2 separate regions of the Homo sapiens genome follow, and region 1 is linked to region 2. The links are contacts of gene promoters, found by promoter capture Hi-C in blood cells and fetal thymus (Javierre and others, 2016). All regions are on one chromosome and are shown on one strand. Each heading gives the region's core, a stretch centred on a gene start or on the middle of the fragment in contact. The rest is flanking DNA. Distances are from core to core; before and after follow the strand shown.

Evidence for each region. Contacts are between HindIII fragments. The CHiCAGO score rates a contact against its expected background, and 5 or more counts as called.
Region 1: a fragment that was not itself captured here is called in contact with the fragment with the promoter of NKIRAS1 in region 2 in 1 of 17 cell types (non-activated CD4 T cells); the score reaches 5.2 in non-activated CD4 T cells.

What each region holds. Positions count from the first base shown.
Region 1 is chr3:139,343,530-139,346,229 of GRCh38, forward strand. It overlaps MRPS22 (mitochondrial ribosomal protein S22), which reads left to right and starts at 491. Exons shown (of 8, transcript NM_020191.4): 1 at 491-669. The coding sequence starts at 498. RefSeq lists enhancers at 549-638, 598-892, 869-968, 979-1,098. The HindIII fragment of the contact is 595 bases long and covers 1,112-1,706 here.
Region 2 is chr3:23,915,489-23,918,320 of GRCh38, forward strand. NKIRAS1 (NFKB inhibitor interacting Ras like 1) reads right to left here and starts at 1,502. Exons shown (of 5, transcript NM_020345.4): 1 at 1,296-1,502. RPL15 (ribosomal protein L15) reads left to right here and starts at 1,644. Exons shown (of 4, transcript NM_002948.5): 1 at 1,644-1,685; 2 at 2,362-2,543. The coding sequence starts at 2,372. RefSeq lists enhancers at 1,106-1,905, 1,157-2,356, 2,286-2,385. The HindIII fragment of the contact is 19,179 bases long and covers 1-2,832 here.

The DNA.
Region 1 (2,700 bases), core at 159-2,658, about 120 Mb after region 2:
CTGGAGTGCAATGGCACGATCTTGGCTCAATGCAACCTTTGCCTCCTCGGTTCAAGCGATTCTCCTGGTACAGGCGCCCGCCACCATGCTTGGCTAATTTTTATATTTTTAGTAGAGACGGGGGTTTCACCATGTTGGCCAGGCTAATCTCGAACTCCTGACCTCAGGTGATCCGCCCGCCTTGGCCTCCCAGACTGCTGGGATTACAGGCGTGAGCCACGGCGCCTGGCCGGAAATTTGTTATTTAGAACGATGGAAACGGGTAGGAAAAAGAGCATATAGGGAAAAAGGTGTAAGTTTTAACTTTATGCATAGGGAAGGACATAAACACCGTCTACTTGTGAATAAGTAGTTTAGAAGAAACAATCTATAAGGGCCCGGAAGACTTCCGGCCCTTTCCGCCTTTAACTAGACTACATTTCCCAGAGTGCTGCAAGAACTGGGTGTGACTCGGAATCCCTCCCAACCACTTCCGGCGCAAGTGGCTTCTGATAATCATGGCGCCCCTCGGAACAACTGTATTGCTGTGGAGCCTCTTGAGGAGTTCTCCGGGCGTGGAACGGGTCTGTTTCCGGGCTCGAATCCAGCCCTGGCACGGTGGCCTGCTCCAACCGCTACCTTGCTCTTTCGAGATGGGGCTGCCACGCCGCCGGTTCAGCTCCGAGGCCGGTAAGTGACCTTCCGGACTTTCGCTGGGGCGTTCTTCTGGGAGACGTAGATCCTGTTTCTGGCAGGCGAAAACCACGCGATAGCCCCCGCGACACGTATCCTAGCGCTTCCTCAGATTCAGCTGTCTTCCTTCTGTACCTGTAGAGTTTGTCATCACCTGCATATCTGTTCATTCGTTCACTCACTCAACTACAGTGCCTGAGTTCCGCTCCGTGCAGAGCACTGTGCTAAGCTCTGTGGGATATGGCAAACTAAGACTGACACAGACATTTCCCTGTGGGAACTCATGTCCATGGGGAATTGGCAGTGCAGTGTGACCCGGGTTGTTATAGGGGACGCACACAGGAGAGGCACTCAAACTAGGTTGGAAGGTCAGGGAAGGGTTCCTGGCAAATATGACCAAAGCTGAGATCTGGTTAGCCATGCTAAGGAGAAAGCAAGAAGCTTCTCAAGCATAGGGGACAGTAGCAGATGTCCAGAAATGAGACTGAGCACAGATATTTGGGAACCCATTTTGGAGGTAGGATTGATAAGGCTTGATTAAGGCTTTGGATATGAGTTTAAAGGGACAAATTAAGATTGTTTCTTAAGTTTTTGATTGGAATAGAGGGTTGTCCCATTTACACCAAGATGAAGAAGATTAATTAATTGTTGGAACCGTTATTTTGGGGGCGGGGGTAGTGCAGGAGTAGATGAGATCAGGAGATGGGAAAGGAGGCGGAATTAAACCTATTTGGGACACATTAAATTTGAGGTGACTTTAAGAGTCAACTGTTTAGTATGGAGTTAAATATAAAGTGAGGAACATCGGAGTAAAAATGGTAACTAAAGGTGAGTGAATGGGTGAGACTGAGGAGAGAGTAGTGCTGAGCACTTGCTGTGTGCTGGATACCCTGAGGAACCCTGGGTGCCAGAGATGAGTATAAGACAAGGTCTGGTCTTCATAGAGCACATCACTTAGTGAGAGACATAGTGTAGGTAAGCAGACCACCTTAACTTTTTTTCTAAATGAGGTTGGAAGCCATTCGTGAATTTTAAGCTTGGGAGTAATCTTGATTACATTTTAAAGAGATTACTCTGGTTGCTCTGTGGAGAATGATCTGTAGTGGGGCCAGAATGGAGAAAGGGAGGCTGATGCAAGAGATGAGGATAGCCTTGACTAGAGTAGTGGCAGTGGGAAATGGAGGATTAAAATGAGATTTATGAAGGCAAACAATCAGTATGTTCTCTGCCAGTGGTGTTTTTTTTTTTGTTTTTTTTTTTTTTTTGTAAAATTGGGATAATCTTCGTGTTTACCTCATGGGTTGTTGTGAGTATTAAATGGGCTGAATGTGTAAAGTACTTAGCTCAGTCAGTATTGGCATGTAGTAAATAGCTAATAAATGGTAGCTCTTATAATTACTGTTATTATTACTACAGCTATTTGATTACTGTTGTTGTTATTACTACTGCTATTGGCTAGATCTGGAGGATCAGGGAGAATTTAGGAATGGCTGTAAGATTTCTGGCCTGTATGGCCTACTGGATGATGCTGAGATAGGGAACAGAAAATGCAGGTTTGAGACAAGGGAAAGTTGATGGGTTCTGACTTGGCAGTATTCAAGTACATGAGAGAGGTTGAGTAATTGGATGGAAGGTGATCTTGGCAGGAGATTCAGATTTTAGAGTTTCTGGCATATAAAGGTAATTGAAGTCGTGGCAGGATAGGAGAAATCATCGAGTAAGAATCTGAGAAGGGAGAAAAGGACATCGTTCAGAATCTGTAGGGATACCAACATTTATAGGAGAAGAAGAGGTGACTAGGAACAAATGGCTTTTTCTTTCTTTTTTGCTAATGGAAATGGAAGTAGAAGTTAGGCAAAGCAATAAGCAAACTGCATGAGGCTGAGCTAAGATTTGATTCTCTGCTTATGTCAAAGGCTCTTCCATGATAACACACGGCCTCTTCAGTATCATGTCCAGTGAACCAAGCCTCTTTCCTAGCTGCAATCTCTTAGCCTAGACTTTCCCTCCCTTTTTTCTCTGCCGTGA
Region 2 (2,832 bases), core at 252-2,751:
GACTAACACAATTTCCTAAGCAGTCTCTCTGCTTCCATTTTTTCTCTCCTTTTAGCCTCAAAAGGAGCAATCCGAGTTATCTTTTTAAAATGTACGCCATATGAAGTCATCCTTCTGTTCAAAATCTGCCAATGAAATCCAAAGTCCATGTGAGAACCTTCACCTCTCCGACGTCATTTCCCACTTTCCCCTACTGTGAATTTCAGCCACACTGCTTCCCTGCTGTTCCTCTATTAATCTTGCATGCTCCAGTCATGGCTCTTCTCCCTCTGCCTGAATCAGACCCCTACTCTTACTCCCAGACTCCTATCCTTGAAGTCCTTTCTTAAATGTTACCTTCTCTCAAAGACTTAACCTGGACACTCCATTCCAAATTGCAACCCTCAGCCGCTAACACTCCCTCATCACTTCCCTCCCCTTATCTTTTTTCCTTAGCATTTACCACCAAACCCAAAACACAGCTTACTTCTGCTTACTGCCCATTTCCAAGAAGGCCAAAAATTCTGCGTTGTTTCCTGCTGCATCCCCAGCAACTATGCCTGGCACATATTAGACACTTAATAAATATTTGTTGAATCAATCAATGAACCAGATAGAGACTCTTAAAAACGTAAAGCTGTGATTTAAAAAGAAAGAAAGAAAAATATGATGTGGGAAAAAAGATAATCAAAACCGCTACGATTAAGAGATAATGATTCTCTTAAGCCTTTGCCACATCTGAACGCATAATCTGGAAGGAAATTAAAGCCACATGACTTAAATTAAAGCCAAGTGAAAATATTCTGGAGAAACAAAGTAAGCCAGTAACCTATTTCTCAATTTAAAAAAAAACCCGCAACGCAAAATGCCAGCATTTTCTCGGCATTTCTTCTCTAAAACATTCACACCTGCCAAACAGGTCTTGGCAAATAAACATTCTGCTCTTCTGAAAAACTGTGGTTCTCATGTTAGCAAATTTGGGACGAAATCCGTATGCAGAAAAAGCGCCGGGCCGCCCGCAATCCACCCACTCCATGACCCTTTTTTAGGACAAAATCCCTGGGCGCTGGGGCCTGCTGGAGGAGCTTCACGCAGTCTGGAGCTGAAGGGACACAGCGAGCGCCCCGACCCGCGACGCCCCGACTCCGCGAAGGCCTCCCTGGGAGGCTGGGGAAGCGTCGGGGGATCTCTCAGCGCAGCTCTGGGGCCCAGATTTCTGCGCCCGTCGTGCGGTGGCCAGAGAGGGACAGCGCAGCGCGGAGACGCGGAGACGCAGAGACTCCGCAGGGGGAGAGCCCGCGGTGCGTGAAACAAACCTGTTCTCTCCTCAGACCTCAAAGACAGCGGCTCCACCGCGGTACGCGGCCACCGGCTTTGGAGCCTGGACCCCAACTTGCCTCCTCTCGCGGAGAGACAGTCGCCGACGCTCGCTTAGCCGCCGAGACCTCGCCGCCAACTCTCTCACCTCTCGAGACGCCCAGGCCGCTCAGGCTCGAATCTTGCGGAGCAGGGGGCGGGACAATAGCGGCCGCGGCGCCCCACTCGGCAGAACTCCGCCACCAGGCGCGATGCCGGAACTACATGTCCCATGACGCTCTGGGAGGCCGCAGCTTTCCACCGGAAAGAGGGTGGCTGAGGTGGGGGAGGAGCCCAAAAGGCATTGTGGGAGTACAGCTCTTTCCTTTCCGTCTGGCGGCAGCCATCAGGTAGGCTGCGTTGAGGATCTTTGCTCTTCCATCCGCCTTTGATCGTCTTCCTCTTCAGCCATCCAGGTCCGGGGACCCTGCGTCCTCGGAGATAGGTCTCCCTCCTGTGCGGCCAGAGTTTGGTCAGGATGCGGGACAGCAAAGGGGTGGAGAGGCGGCCCCCGGGGCGGGTTGAGCGAAGATGTGATGGCGGCGCGAATTCGAGCTGGGCCCGGATCCTGGAGGAGGCGTGGGGCTGACGAATGGGGCGCCCGGGACAAGGCAGCCTAAAGTGAGGCTGCTGGTTGGGTGGGGTAGATGCATTTTCCTCGAGAGTTAATCCTCGGTGGCCGCAGCAGTACCTTGTCCTGTGATGTCAGCGGCATCTCCTTTCAGGTCCTCCTTGGGGACGCCGCCTGCCGCAGCCACCCGCCCCCTTGGTGCTCAGTTCTGGTTCTGTTAATTCGCCCCACCAAAACGTGCCGAGCACCGCTCTGTGCTGGGGTTGCGGAAGTGACTGAACGCGGCTCCGTGGGCGCAGTGGTGGGGGTTGGGCTAGCTGTCCCCGGCAGTTGGTGCAGAGCCATTTTCATTCCCGGCGGTTTCCTTGTTTTTGTTGGGGAACTAAGATGGACGGATACAGTCGTCTTATTGTACTTAAAGCGGATGATATTTAATACACAGTTTGATTTCACAGGTAAGCCAAGATGGGTGCATACAAGTACATCCAGGAGCTATGGAGAAAGAAGCAGTCTGATGTCATGCGCTTTCTTCTGAGGGTCCGCTGCTGGCAGTACCGCCAGCTCTCTGCTCTCCACAGGGCTCCCCGCCCCACCCGGCCTGATAAAGCGCGCCGACTGGGCTACAAGGCCAAGCAAGGTACGTGATCGACTGCGTGGATGCTTGGATAAAATTATATTCGAGAAAAGTTGGAAACCAGCTGTTAGGAAGACACTGCTGCCTCAGTGTCTTTCTTCGCATAGGGCTTTGGCAGAAAAAAGCTAGCAACACTGGTCAGTTACTGTATGCACTGTTGTCTAAAGTGGCAAGTGTGTCAAAGGTTACAAATCTGAATGAGTTCAGACTAAAGCAAAATAAACAGTGTGCCTCCCTGTGTGAGTAGCCTAAGGTGCATTGAAAAAGACTGGGATGTGTTTTATTTTTTTCT